Linked DNA regions of Homo sapiens: all the other regions are linked to region 1. Evidence: promoter capture Hi-C in human tissues and cell types (Jung and others, 2019). All regions are on one chromosome and are shown on one strand. The core of a region is centred on a gene start or on the middle of the fragment in contact, and the rest is flanking DNA. Distances in the headings are between cores, read along the strand shown.

What was found. Contacts are between HindIII fragments. The study calls those that stand out against the background at their distance.
Region 2: a fragment that was not itself captured here is called in contact with the fragment with the promoter of GNA14 in region 1 in 1 of the 25 tissues and cell types used here (mesendoderm cells).
Region 3: a contact is called between a fragment that was not itself captured here and the fragment with the promoter of GNA14 in region 1, in 1 of the 25 tissues and cell types used here (mesenchymal stem cells).
Region 4: a contact is called between a fragment that was not itself captured here and the fragment with the promoter of GNA14 in region 1, in 1 of the 25 tissues and cell types used here (dorsolateral prefrontal cortex).

The regions. Positions count from the first base shown.
Region 1 is chr9:77,645,687-77,649,601 of GRCh38, reverse strand. It overlaps GNA14 (G protein subunit alpha 14), which reads left to right and starts at 1,280. Exons shown (of 7, transcript NM_004297.4): 1 at 1,280-1,932. The coding sequence starts at 1,809. The HindIII fragment of the contact is 8,690 bases long and covers 1-3,915 here.
Region 2 is chr9:77,303,790-77,307,756 of GRCh38, reverse strand. The region is part of intron 34 of VPS13A (vacuolar protein sorting 13 homolog A); the gene reads right to left. Among named protein-coding and RNA genes, the nearest start is that of VPS13A-AS1, 130 kb to the right of the region's middle. The HindIII fragment of the contact is 5,520 bases long and covers 1-3,967 here.
Region 3 is chr9:78,045,286-78,049,143 of GRCh38, reverse strand. No RefSeq gene overlaps it. Among named protein-coding and RNA genes, the nearest start is that of GNAQ, 15 kb to the right of the region's middle. The HindIII fragment of the contact is 4,371 bases long and covers 408-3,858 here.
Region 4 is chr9:78,017,437-78,020,911 of GRCh38, reverse strand. The region is part of intron 1 of GNAQ (G protein subunit alpha q); the gene reads left to right. Among named protein-coding and RNA genes, the nearest start is that of GNAQ, 13 kb to the left of the region's middle. The HindIII fragment of the contact is 5,103 bases long and covers 1-3,475 here.

The DNA of each region.
Region 1 (3,915 bases), core at 31-2,530:
GTCAATTTATGCCTGCAAGAAAACTAAAATAGTCACACATTAAAGCATGTATGCACATTTTTAATGTCTGATTCCTCTACATTTCTTAAACTGTAAAATAATAAGAACATGCAGCCAGATAGCATCGCGATACCAACTTCTTTATATAATGACACGTACCATTCCACTCAATGTGCTCCTCAGTTTGAATTTATAAAATATATGCTACTCAAATGAAAGGCACTTATGCCTGCTCTTAGTAGAGGAAGCGCTAGCTAATTGCCTAACGCCCCATTAGCATATGGCCTATACTGACTTGAGAAGGAAAGAACGTTCATTGCTGTGGCCAATAGGATCCCCTCTCCCCACCTTCCCTTTTCTGCATCAAAATCTACACAGACAAAAGTCAGATGTTGTAATATGCATTTTATCGTGTCACTTAAGTACTAAGAGGTGCTTTTAAAGTTTTTATTAATGCTGCTCAAACTTGACCCCGACGGTCCAGGATACAGGCCAAGGTGTCAGTGCGGACACAATCGCAAGGCGGCTGTTAGGCTTCAGGGCTGGGCAGGAAACTTGCCAGGTGCTACTAGGAACGTATCAGCCCTTTCTACAAAGCAGGTGTCTTTCCCATCATAAAATGCAAAGCAATCAGCCGTTCCCTTTCTCCCCAGCCCCCTCGTCCGGAGACCGAGAGGATATTTACCCTGGGCTCTTGCAGTTCTCTTATAACTGAACCCAGCGGCGGCTCCTTCTCCGAGCTCAGAGCCAGCAGGCTCAGGCCCAGCCACACTTTACAGGCAAATTGCCGAGCTGACCAAGGGCTTTGGCCAAGCCCGAGCTGGGCCGGGGCGTCCGGGAAGCGGAAGGAGCCAGTCTAGGAAATCCGGGTGTGCGTGGTGGTGAAGCTGGTGGGCAAGCTTCCACTTCAGGTCCGGGGCTTTGTGTCCCGCAACAGACGCTTGGCGCCGCTCCTCTTCCAGCCTGCTGCCGCCTTCTCCGAGCGAGTGAGTTGGCGAAACTCACTCACCTGTCGGAACCCGGTGCCTGGCGGCCAGACGCGCAGATTACAGCAAACCTTGGCCGGGACGCCCCAGCCAGGGAGGCAAGTGTGGGAGCTGCTCCTAGAGGTGCCAGCTCCCACCCCCAGCTCCGCGCCCCCTGCTCGTCCCCTTTCACTTCCAGGCGCCTTCGGCTTGGGGTGCCCAGAAGGGCAAGTCCAGCAGACGCCAGGGCTGCAGGTTCAAGATGCTCCGCCTCCTCCTGCCACTTAGAGCCACAAACGCTAGCGGGAACCTTTCCACTCAGTCTTAGTCTGCGGTCACTGCTGAGGTTTTCAGAACTTTCCAGGCAAAGGCCAGCCAGGTCCTTTGCCTCCAACCCACTCCGCGCCTACCTCCCGCCTGGGGACACCCCTAGGCCCAGGAGATCCTACTCTCCCCCGAGCACCGACGTTCCAACTCGTCTGCGCCCCCGACTGCTGTCCGGCTCCTGTGCCAAGGGGCGCGCGCATCTTCCCGGGGCCAGCAACGCTCCCAACTTCTCGACTCGCCCTCCTCCTCCCCAGAGCGAGAGTGGGGCGGGCTGAGCCCGGATCCGGGGTGCACTCGAGCGTTCCCAGCGCTCGGCATTCACCCCGCCTCAGAGCCGACTTTCGAAGGGGGATTGAGCCTCGGAGGTCCAGGCGTCTTACTCCAAAGCTCAAGTCGGCCCCCGTCTTTTCTTTCCACACCCCTGTGCCCGTCGCATGCTGGCCGGGTGAGCGGCCGGGCCGAGGATTCGGGTGCCCGGGGCCGCGTCGCCCCGTCGGGTACTGAGCTGAGCGCACCATGGCCGGCTGCTGCTGCCTGTCCGCGGAGGAGAAGGAGTCGCAGCGCATCAGCGCGGAGATCGAGCGACAGCTTCGTCGGGACAAGAAGGACGCGCGCCGTGAGCTTAAGCTGCTGCTGCTGGGTGAGTGGCTGCGTCTCCGACTCCAGTGAGCCGGGCGTTTTTCTTCCGAGCCCTCCCGGCCTCTCCACTGGCACCCGCGCGGCCCTGGAGCCCAGCGGGGTGCAGGGCGGCTTCGTCCTTCTCCCCCTCGGAGCTCACGGATGCCAGCAACTTGGGGCCTTAGGTGCCTGTTCTTTCCATCTCTGGCTGGGCGACTTGCAAAAGCAACACCTTCCCCTGCCCCAAAACAGGATAGGGACCTGTAACACTTAACCTCTTGACCGCTGTACCTTATGTGTTCCGGTGTGCCCCTCTCCTCAAAACCCCGTCCACTCCTCCGCCCGCAGCACACCCAGCTTGGGGTCTGTGGTGACCCACATCTTGGGTTCAGCGCTAGCTCTGACCCGTACGCTTTCAGTTCTAGATGAAGCATCTTGAGAATTTACCATGTGCCAGATCGTGCTAAGTTCTTAAGGGCATCACCACCTGGTGATGCGGGCAGGTGATATCGCTATTCTAGAGAATTAAAACATGGAGGCCTGGAGAACTGACCAACTTGCCCTGATTGAGAAAAGGCAAAGCCGATGCTAGGTCAGCTGTGGGGGTGAAGCCCATGCCGTTGCTGCTCCTCTGACCGTGAGCTCCTATGCCTGCCTCCCATGGGGGTCCCTCAGGCCTTTGTGTTTGCAGCGGACCCAAACCTCCCTTGCCCAGCTTGACTCAGTGTGTCCACGTCCTAGGATTCAGCTTGGCTGCCCTGGTGCCTCTGGCAGGTCTTCATCCAGCTCTTTTGGTGTCTCTGCAAAGGTCTGGGTAGGACATCCACTTTCAAACACAGAAAGAACACAGTTTAAGGTTTGCCCAAGTTATGCCATGAGGCAAGGATCCCATCTCAGACTTTCTAGAACGCTGTCAACACATTTGCTGTTTGAGGAATATTTTACCTTTTCTACCTTTCAGACCATGATATCAGCTGTCAATTTTTTTCTAGATAGCCACAAAGATTTCAACTTTTTTTCTTTCACCCCTTTTGAACAGGAATCTTCTCTTATACCATCTATTTATTCATCTTTATTCCTTGTATAGGAATCACCCTCCCAGAAAGCTTCAAGGAAAGAAAAAGTTGATCTAGTTAGTGTAATATAGAGAAGGCTCTCAGCCAGTATGGCCTTCAGACCTGGGCGGAAGAACCCCCTTATCCTTATCCCCTGGGTTTAAAGGGCCCAGTCTGGCCTTCTGGGGGTTGGGGGGGGGTGTGCCCCTCCCCACAGAGCTGGAAGTCTGTAGGTCCAAAGGGGCTTGCTACCCAGAGACCATGCTGCCCCCTCCCTCCCAAGACCTGGATGGAATGAATACCCAGCCCAAAGGGACCCATACCAGCTTCTAAGGCCTGAGCCCTAGAAAAGAAGGCAGACCTGATCCCTGGAGAGCTCACAAAGGGGCAGCTGTTTGCTGGGGCGTAAAAGTGCTTGGAAATGTGGGCTGGGTAGGAGTGGAGGGAGTCCCCGTGGGTGCCCAAGAGGCCCCCCTAGGAGAGAGGGAGCTTGGGTGGGGAAGGGAAGGGGCTCTGTTCATTGGCCAGGTCTGCTATTTCTGTGTCTGACCCATAACTTTGAAAAGTCTGAAAATTCTAAATTGTCCCTGGCCTTCTAGGCTGTTATAAAGCTACCTTTGTCAAGGGAGGAGGAATACGTGAGAATTTGCTAGCTTGATTAACACTAGAAAATAACTATGGGTGCGGGGCTTTGTACTTTTGCCCTGAACCCCACAAACCAGAGGGGTTTAGTTGCGTATGTAACTTTTTTCTTTATAAGGGCAGGCTGAACCCTATTTCATTTTGCAATGCTTTGATTTGTGTCAATGTATGAAGTACAGTGTCCAGAATATACCAGGAGCTTGACAAATGCTGGCTCTTTGTATGAAAAATTGTGTAGTCAGCTGAGCTGTACTGTATTGGTAATAAGCCTGTTTGATGTAAAATTCTCGCATTTACCCACAAACTAG
Region 2 (3,967 bases), core at 210-2,709, 340 kb after region 1:
TAGAACTAAATTAGGTGTTAATACCAATGAAGTTATGAATAAAGAACTATTTGTTATTAATGTACCAAATAATATAGTAATTTTAAACCTTTAAAATGAACTTTCAGTAGTTATCTGTCTACTTTGGATTTTTTTGGTTAGTAAGCACCTCATTTTACAAATGTAGAATAAAAAATGATACATTTGGTTTACCAAAAATTTTAGAGTTCACAATGTGTTTTACATGAACTATTTTATTTGAACCTCGAAAAAGTCCTAGGTCTATGGAATATGATCCTGAAATGTATTTATTTAGTTAGGTAGTTAGTGAATGGGTCTCATTCTGTCACCCAGGCTGGCATGCAGTGGTGCAATCCTAGCTCACTGCAGCCTCAAACTCCTGGGCTCAACCTCTGACCTCAGCCTCCCAAGAAACTGGGATTACAATCATGTACCAACATGCCCAGCTAATGCAATCCTGATATTTATATTTATAAGACACTGAAGCTAAATGGTTAATATGCTTAGGTCCACACATAAACTAGGAACTAACTCAAAGAGCTAATAATTTCAGGCCAGGTGTGATGGGTCACGCCTGTAAGCCCAGCACTCTGGGAGGCTGAGGCAGGCAGATCACTTGAGGCCAGGAGTTAAGAGAACAGCCCAGCCAACACGGTGAAACCCCGACTCTACCGAAAATACAAAAATTAGCCAGGCATAGTGCACACCTGTAATCCCAGCTACTCAGGTGGCTGAAGCAGGAGAATTGTTTGAACCTGGGAAGCAGAGAGTGCAGTGAGCCGAGATCGCGCCACTGCCCTCCAGCCTGGGCAACAGAGACTCTGTCTCAAAAAAAAAAAAAAAAAATAAAGAGCCAATTTCAAATCCTAGCTGTTACAAATTTAGTCCCAAATCAACAGCATAAGACCTGCCTTAATAGCTGTGATGGTTAATTTTGTATGTCACTTTGGCTCAGTCACAGTACCTAGGTATGTGGTCAAACATAAAATGTTTCCGTGAAAATATTTTTTAGATGAAATTAATATTTAAATCTCTAGACTCTAGGTAAATCAGATTACACTCCATAATGTAGGTGGACCTCATCCAATTGCTTTGTATTGAAGTTGGAGGCCTTCAATAAAAAAAGACTGACCTCCTCTAAGCAAGAATTCTGCCAGCAGACTGCCTTCAGACTCGAGCTCCAACACTACCTCTTCCCTGGATATCCTTCCTGCTGGCCTACCCTGTAGACTGACTTTGAACTTGGTGGCATCCGCAATCATGTACACCAATTCCTTAAAATAAGTCTCTCCCTTTTCCCTCTCTTTACACACACACACACACACACACACACACACACACAAACACACACACACTCTCTCTCTCTCTCTCTGGAGAACCCTAACACAACAGAAATAATGTAAAAAAGATCTTTGAGTTTGGCTCACTTCTAAGTTTGTCAAAACAACAAAAAGAATTTTTAGCTGTTATGACCCCAAGGAGATAATTTGAATCCCACAATATTTAACAAGTTTTACTTGTAACCAAGCTTTCTTTGACTGCATTTCAAAGATGACACACTAATTTAGTGTTTTAAAATTAAGTCCATGTGTACCTTATACATACTACTAATGTTTGGGGTTTTTTTTAAGCTTTCATTCCTTCATTCTTTATTCATGACACTTAGTTTGTAACTATGTAGCAGACACTGCAAAAAGAGTTCATATAATAAGATGAAAATAAATATTACAACTTCTAAACCATGTCTTCCAGTTAGTATCTGTCTATCGCATGCACCTCAAATACTGATTATTAATTGGCACTCTTCCTTCACTTTTGCCAGGAGCTCAGTGGAGGAAGTTCAAAGAACTGTAAGGATCCTGGGGCTGCTGATCTGCAGTATCTACATGTCAGGACAGGCTGTGTATGCAACCACTGAAAATCTGACAAGTCAGAAATCACAAGCTGCTCCACTTGGTCTGGATGCATTAGACTAAATGATTTCACAACCAATTCTAGCCTCTCCCTGGCACAGAAGATGAGGCCCAGGAGAGAACAAATATCTGGGCTCTGGGGTGAGCTGCAACAGCAGCTAACCAACTACTCAGGTGAATTAGAGTAAGGGAAGCCCCAACTTTACCCTAGAGGGTTGGCCTCAAAAGGCAGCTGGGCACTTGCAGATTGTTGGCAGCATCACCAGGACATTCTGTATGGATTCTACCTGGGAAGAGCATGAGAAAGCAGTGTCTTTGCTGCCCCACACAAATATGCCTAATAACTGGGCCCAGTGGGATAGCAACTGCCCCAGCATGTTGGGTGGAACATAATATTTATGTTTTATAAGTTTCTATATGTTTTATGAGTTTCTATCTGTTATCTTACCAATATAAATAGACTTCAAATATTTATCTTAAAAAGATAACTTCCATCTCCTACCCTGTAAGTTAAAGCAGCCATTATTATCTTACACACTAAGATTTTCATAATGCCATCATGTTTTATGCTCTGAATATACGTTTGACTTAAAAGTCTGAAATCTCGGCCAGGCGTGATGGCTCACGCCTGTAATCCCAGCACTTTGGGAGGCCAAGGGGGGTGGATCACGAGGTCAGGAGATCAAGACCATCCTGGCTAACACGGTGAAATCCCGTCTCTACTACAAACACAAAAAATTAGCCGGGCGCGGTGGCGGATGCCTGTAGTCCCAGCTATTCGGGAGGCTGAGGCAGGAGAATGGCGTGAACCCCAGAGGCGGAGCTTGCAGTGAGCTGAGATTGCACCACTGCACTCCAGCCTGGGCAACAGAGCGAGACTCCATCTCAAAAAAAAAAAAAAGAAAAAAAGTCTGAAATCTCTAAAATGATGGTTTTCTCATAATCAATAAAATTTTTACAGAAAGAAATAGAAAGGGAAACTGTGAGGTGGGGAGAAGGATTTGTTAAGTAGGTTTCTTAAAGAAACCTCCCAGAGCATATGTTGCTATCACTTCAGCAAAGCCTATGACACACTTTTGACTTTCATCCAGTCAAGGGAAAAAAATATGAACTTGTGGGCAGTTCCATGAGAGATCTTTGAAGCAATGTCAACCAATAAGAAAGTAAAACTAAGGTGGTGACACATTTGCCATTTTCATTTTCAACTTATGAATTCTTCTAATACTTTCTCTTCCTTTGTATAGATTATTTCATATATTTCCATGGCTTTAAATGCCATCTATATGCTGGTGACACCAAAATTAGTATTTCTAACCTAGATCTTTCCAATAAATTCTATATTAATATATCTAATTGACTACAGCACCATGCCTATTATTTGTGTCCTTCATTGTAGGGAAAAGAAAGAGAGATCAGACTGTTACTGTGCCTATGTAGAAAGGGAAGACATAAGAGACTCCATTTTGAAAAAGACCTGTACTTTAAACAATTACTTTGCAGAGATGTTGTTAATTTGTAGCTTTGCCCCAGCCACTTTGACCCAGCCACTTTGACCCAACCTGGAGCTCACAAAAACATGTGTTGTATGAAATCAAGGTTTAAGGGATCTAGGGCTGTGCAGGACGTGCCTTGTTAACAAAATGTTTACAAGCAGTATACTTGGTAAAAGTCATTGCCATTCTCTAGTCTCAATAAACCTGGGGCACAATGCACTGTGGAAAGCCGCAGGGACCTCTGCCCTTGAAAGCCGGGTATTGTCCAAGGTTTCTCCCCATATGATAGTCTGAAATATGGCCTCGTGGGATGAGAAAGACCTGACCGTCCCCCAGTCCGACACTCGTAAAGGGTCTGTGCTGAGGTGGATTAGTAAAAGAGGAAAGCCTCTTGCAGTTGAGATAGAGGAAGGCCACTGTCTCCTGCCTGCCCCTGGTAACTGAATGTCTCGGTATAAAACCCAATTGTACATTTGTTCAATTCTGAGATAGGAGAAAAACCGCCCTATGGTGGGAGGCGAGACATGTTTGCAGTAATGCTGCTTTGTTATTCTTTACTCC
Region 3 (3,858 bases), core at 1,344-3,843, 400 kb before region 1:
AGACGAAGTCTCGCCCTGTCGCCCAGGCTGGGGTGCAGTGGCGTGATCTCAGCTCATGCAACCTCTGCCTCCTGGGTTCAAGTGATTCTCGTGTCTCAGCCTCCCAAGTAGCTGGGATTACAGATATACACCACCAAGCCCGGCTAATTTTTTGTATTTTTAGTAGAGATGGGGTTTCACCATGTTGGCCAGGCTGGTCTCAAACTCCCGACCTCAGATGATCCACCCTCCTCAGCCTCCCAAAGTGCTGGGATTACAGGTGTGAGCCACTGTGCCTGGCCTGTGGTTTGTCCTTTCATCTCTCAACAGTGTCTTCTTCAGAGGAGAAGTTTTTAATTTTAGTGAAGTCCAATTTTTTCTTTTATGGACCGCACTTTTGGTGTTGTATCTAAAAAATAATCACCAAACCCAATAAGGCCACTTAGATTTTCTAATAAATGTCTTTTTATTGTGATAAATATATATGAATGGTTACCGTTTTAACCATTCTTAAATGTACAGTTCTATAGCATTAAGTGCATTCACCTTGTTGTGCATCTAATAAATGTTTTTGGGTTTGTTTTTTTTTTTTTTTTTTTTTTTCAGACGGAGTCTTGCTCTGTCACCCAGGCTGGAGTGCAGTGGCACGATCTTGGCTCACTGCAACTTCTGCCTCCTGGGTTCAAGCGATTCTCTGCCTCAGCCTCCTGAGTAGCTGGTACTACAGGCGCGTGCCACCATGCCCAGCTAATTTTTTGTATTTTTAGTAGAGATAGGTTTCACCATGTTAGCCAGGATGGTCTCAATCTCCTGACCTCGTGATCTGCCTGCCTTGGCCTCCCAAAGTGCTGGGATTACAGGCGTGAGCCACCATGCCTGGACAAATATATTTTAAAAAATTTATTCGGGGGGGTGGGCACGGTGGCTCACGCCTGTAATCCCAGCACTTTGGGAGGCCGAGATGGGTGGATCACCTGAGGTCAGGAGTTCGAGAGCAGCCTGGCCAACATGGCCAAATCCTTTCTCTACTAAAAATACAAAAATTAACTGGGTGTGGTGGCGTGCGCCTGTAATCCCAGCTACTTGGGAGGCTGAGGCAGGAGAATTGTTTGAACCCAGGAGGCAGAGGTTGCAGTGAGCCTAGATCGCACCACTGCACACCAGCCTGGGTGACAGAGTGGGACTCCATCTCAAAAAAAAAAAAAATTATTGGGGTATTTTTCAAATTTCAAAAGTAAAATGGTTTTATTTTGAAAATAAAAATACAGACGAGCAAAAAATATAAAGTAAAAATTACCCACAATCCCCCTCCTGAGAAATACAGCTGCTGATATTTGATGCACAGCCATCTAAGCACATGTATGTACTCCTATTATGTATATGTGTATATACAAATTTTTAGAACATAATTAGGATCATTCTTTCACATCATTTGACACCTACTTTTTTATTTAACAAAGAATTTTATCTGATATTACTTTTTCCACTATCATTAGGTATTTTTTATGTGGCATGATAATTACTTCATATTCCATCATATGGATATGGTATAATGTATTTAGTCTGTTCTCTAATATTTAACTCCTGGGTTGTTTCCATATTTTGTGTAATCTGTTTTAATTGTGATAAACACTCCATAAATAAATATTTGTTCACATCCTGATTATATCCTTCAGATAAATTTCTAGAAATGTCGCTGGTAGGTCAATGGATATGTGTATTTTTCAGGCTTTATTTTTCTGTTGCCAAATTTCTCTCCAGAAAAGGAATGCCAATTTATAAGACAAGAGCATGCCCATTTCTTCATACTATCACTAATGCTTGACAATTAATTTAAAACGAAAAATAAATCTCCACCAAAGAATATGAATTGATACAGTTTGCAAGATGAGAATAGGAGGACGGGAGATTATATCCAGGAACCGAGAGATCAAAATTAAAATAATCATCTTCTAAAAGCACCAAAAACATGGAAGAAATTAAAAACCTCAGCTGAGAATATGCAAAATAAGAACTATCCCCTTTAAATAATAACATAGTTTTAAGGAAAGCCTTACTGCATCAGTCTGTTAAATGTACTCAATTTTTAATTTCTTGGCTATAATTAGCCCATATTTTTAAATCTCCAATGTTTTAAGCTGTATCTTTTTCAACAAACCACTGAGCCATTAAAGTACAGAGCCATGAAAAATGTTAGTGCCTTTTGAACTTGTTGATGCTCCTAACTACAACTACATTTTCAATGAATTGGGCATACGGGTGTGACACATAAAACAAGATTTCATTGTCTCCAATTTTGCAACAATTACTATGAGATGGCTGTATCATCATTTTCAGTCCCTGCTTGAGAATAAATGATGCCAGAATTGTTTTTCTAGTATGAACAATATTTGTTACATGAAGATACAATGTCACCAAAGTAAATTATAAAGTATAAGACTTTCTACTTTTGGTCAAATTAACTCAATTGACCGTTGACAAGTAGAAAAAGGCCTCTGAAGGCATTTTCTTCCCTTTTAAAGACTTCCTAAGATTTGCAAGAAATTCATCACAAAAGTTTTTCTGGAAATACATTTGTATTTCTTCAAATTTTTAATAAATGTCAAATATTTCATTTATATCATATACATCTTGTTTTGAAAGGATAAAATTTATAAACAGTTCTTATAGCTGAGCAAGAAAGGGAATAAAACATTTTAAAGAACAAAGTGCATTTCTAGGGCTCTTCATTTTCTCACACTTTGTTAAAATATGCAAACACTTATTACTTGGCTCACAGTTAATTAAATGATCCCATGCAGACAGAAACTGAACCACATACTTGACTCTGGTCAAGCAGTTCACCACAATCTATTCAAGAAAAAAGTGTAGTGTTGACCATGAAGCCTGTTTTCATAACCCTAACCTTTTGCAAATCAGTTAAGAAGCTTGACTTGTAGACTGTATACTGTTAATTAGCCAAAATACATCCCATGCTGGAGAATGTTTATAGCTCATACTTTCTGCTGGCACTGACATGACATTTGCATGGTGCTATAGTAAAATAAATAATTTCTGCAGAATTTACTTGATTCTTCCCCTCCCCTCTCTTTAGATTGGATGAACTACATTTAAGTTAGAAATCTCTTCATTTAGAAAAGCTTATTAAGGAGAGAAAAGCCACAAGCTTCTTTCTTGTTAACAGGAATGTGAAACCAGCATTTTTCTGAAACTTCCTAAGATCCTCCAAATTTGAACTATGTTTAAAATAAATGCCTTGGTAAGTGAGCACTTACTTTCTCTTGTCATTTTGCTGGTATGACTGCGTAATTGCTGAAGGTCAGGAGCTGCACCCTGCACAGTCCCAGGAGCACAGCAGATGCCCTACAAATATTTGGGCATTATAAAGTGCCCAAGAAGCCCCTCCAGAAATGAAGAGTCTGTGGTTTTGTCATTGTCACCAGGAAGAGTTGACAGGGTGGCTTTTTACTTACCTTACTTAAAACTAAATTTCCCAAATTCATCTGAGATAAACATGCCTTTTGATATCATTCAGCTGTTTGACATTATTACGTATTTGAATGCACACAAATGATTTTAACCCCCAGGAGAGCTAAATTATAATGACCCTGCTTGGGGAGTGTCAGTTCGCCAACAAGTATCTAAAAGTACGAGTTTGAAGAAGAGGTAAGGTGACCACCCTAACAGCCAGGGCACGCTTAGAATTCCTTGGATTCAGTCATGAGCTCAAGGTGCCACTGCTGTGGAGCTTCTGTAATGACATCATGCCACAGAATCAGCCCTGTCATGTCCGTGCTCCTCCTTCTCAAGCTCTCAGTTGGAACAGGACTCCCAGTCTGCTGAAAATTAAGCCCCACCAGAATTTCCAGAGAAATAGAA
Region 4 (3,475 bases), core at 630-3,129, 370 kb before region 1:
GGCATTCCTAGGCCCACTTTACTCCTGGCCCAGGGCCTTCTCCTCATCAACTTATCAGCGTTGGGCTTCCTTACCTTGACCTCACATTTGCAGTTGAATGAGTGCCAGGGAAAAGAACAGACATAGGGTAAAGTAGAGTAATAGGGAGTCCCGTGGGGCTTGGAAGGGCAGAGGGTGTTGTTGCCAATAGGGGTAGCGCCATTGTGTCTTTGCTGGGCTCTGGAGAGAAGGAGAGAAGAGCAAAGGAGAGGTGCCTGATGCCTTGGATTGATGTTCTCAATCAGGAAGAGCCAGACCAATGCTGCCTCTTCTGGCCGCCTCCACCATCCTACCACGTGTTTTCATCCTCATTGTCACATCCACTGTGCCCTTCCTCACCCAGATGGTGGGTTGGGAGATGAGCAAGTAAGTGTAGACGCCTTGGTGGAATGGGAGTAGTTTGTGTTGCATGTACTCATTCCTGTCCTTTTGTTCCCAGAGGTGGTTAAATAGGTGAGCATAGAACTCTCATGAAGCTGTGTCCCGAGAAAAACCCTTGACAGAGTATAAAGAAAATTTGCAACATGTTTCCTCCATGTTTTTTTTTCTGTCAGCTGTTTCAGGTGATAGAAATGCATCTATTACTGTTTTGAGAACTCTGCTAATCCTGTGATGTGTTATGAGATGTCTCTTGAGACATCCTTGCTCAGGAAATCTGCTTTTGCTTGGCTTGCATCTCCTATAGTAAAATGGCTCTCAGTTTCCCACGGCAATAAATAAATAAGCAATAGCATGAGATATTCTTGCCAGGTAGATTCATGCAAAGTGGAGGCATGTAATGTAGAAATAACACCTTTTAGCTGAGAAAAGGCACCTATCAATTGGATGTATTCTCTTGTGTCTTTTTCATGTTCTGGGCCATTACATCCAAGCCTAAGAGCAGACTTTTTCCCTAGGATTTTTAAAGGTTCCTAAAGTCTCTTTTCTTTCTTTTTTTTTTTTTTTTTTTGAGATGGAGTCTCACTCTGTCACCCAGGCTGGAGTGCAGTGGCGCAATCTCAGCTCACTGCACCCTCTGCCTCCCAGGTTCAAGTGATTCTCCTTCCTCAGCCTCCCAAGTAGCTGGGATTACAGGCGCCTGCCACCATGCCTGGCTAATTTTTTGTGTTTTCAGTAGAGACGGGGTTTCACCATGTTGGTCAGGCTCCTCTCAAACTCCTGACCTCAGGTGATCCACCCATCTTGGCCTCCCAAAGTGTTGGGATTATAGGCTTGAGCCACCGCACCTGGCCTAAAGGTTCCTAAAGTCTCTAATTATGACCGACATTCAAAATGAAGCTGCATATGTTTTGGTTAATTTGAATAATTTTTAATAATTTGAGAGAAAAACTCAGTAGTGCAGAAACAAAAGGTACTTGAAATGAACCTTTATATTTTTATTTATCAATTACATTCTAATGGTCCAAGAATTAATGAATTGGCAAGCACTATCTCCTATTGGAGTCAAGTTTGGCTCTGACATGGAGTCTGGAGGTGGAAGGTTCTTGCTGTCTTTCAGAGCTAACGAATGGGTGTCCTCTGAACATTCTACCTTCTCCTGTTTTGCCATGGGTTACCATCTAAGATGTTATCCAGATCACGTTAGAAACGATTACAAATTTTGGGCACATACCACTTCTTGTAGTAATGAGTCCCATGCATTTTCTCATCTTATATGGGAGAAAATACCTGTATATTGCTTTATCATTTTCAGAGAAACAGTTTGTGTTTCCTTATCCAATACATCTTGGTAAAGAGTGGCATTTTAATGGAGGAAATTACAGGACTTCATCAATATTTCTTTAGGGAAATCCTGATTCAAAGTATATTTTCATGAAAATCACTAGCTCTGTCCTTTGAGAAACGTATTTTTTGTAGGGCTTTCTACTCTAGGCCATGCTTGTTATGAGAACAGATTCTTCTGCAGCGGGTGGGAGGATGTTTCTAAACCCCTGGAGTCTACCTATGAATTGCTACTCAAATTACAGTGTATCCATCTCAGAATTAATGTGTTGTGCATGCCTAGTCCTTACTTGTGGGTTGACACAATGATTTCTATTAAAAATATTCTTTATGTTTTATACTATAATGTATCCTTAAGCAGTATGCTGTGGCCTGAATTTACCTTGTCTTTTATTCTCTTTTTGGAATGAAATAAGAGCACTTGAGATACTGTCATTTGGTGGTTTGGTTGTTTGTAAAATAGTAAAAAAAAAAGTTTGGTAAGGAGAAAAGCTATTGTGCTTAATAGACAGTCCAAGTTTGAGTCGAGAAGAAATGTTTATTTTCTTCCACTTAATGTTCTGACATTCTTAAGAAATACATTATGTTGTTTTCATGCTAGTCTTTGAAAGAATGACAACCCACATTCTGTTATTTAATTACATTATTTTTTATAGCCTGTTTTTCAGTGATTTTGAAATTTTACAAATAATGCAAGTTTTTTGCACAAAATTTAATAAAACTTTTTAAAATATTCATAAATTTATCAAAAATATACCAGTCTAAACTAAGAACCATGCTCTTTTTGCACATTCCTTTATAGTCTGTTTTATTTTTATGTTTTTTACATAGATGTGATCATACTGTACAACTTAACATTAGGTTGTAAGCATTTTTTATGTGGCTATGTAGACTTCATATTAACATTTGAAAAGACTGTATAAGATTCTTTTGAGAGGATGTATATTGTTTACTTGTTTACTCTTTTTTTTTTGTACATTTAGGTTTCTCCCAATGATTTCATTTTAAAAATAATGCTGTGATGAAGTTCTTGGTGGAGATAGCTTTTTAAAACATGCACACACATAATTTTGTTAGAATAGATTCATGGAAATGTTATTTCTAGGTCTGAGGATATGAAAAATTTTACAACCTTGGTTATACACACCCAAAACATATTCTGAAACGATTGTATACAGTTTCCAGCATCATGAACAATATTATTAGAATATCAGTAAGTTAGGAGGCAAAAATGGTACATAATTCTAAACTTTGCATTGATCATTAGTGAGAATGATCATTTCCCCATGTTTGTTTCTAGTTGAATTGCTTCTTTTGTGAATTGTTTCTTCATTTCCTTTGCCTATTTTTGAACTCCAAACCTACAAATGAAATTAGCCTTTTGTCATTTTTATTGCCAAAAACTTAACCCCAGTCTGTTGTTTTCCTTTTGTTTTGTATTATTTGATACAGAAGTTTTTAATTACTATCAAGCCAAAACTGTTGATCTTTTGCTATTCTGTTTTAAAATAAAAATCATGATCTGCTTTAGATATTCCATGAAAGCTAGATTTACTGCCATTGTTATGGACAAAACTAGATTGAATGTAGTGTGTTATACATCTCTGATGTATGGTTCTTTTTCTTTCAAAATGAAGGTGAAATGTACATACAAGTTTCAGTGTCACAGATGACACAGCATAAGCTGTTCTATGTGTAATTGGATTTTTTTCAT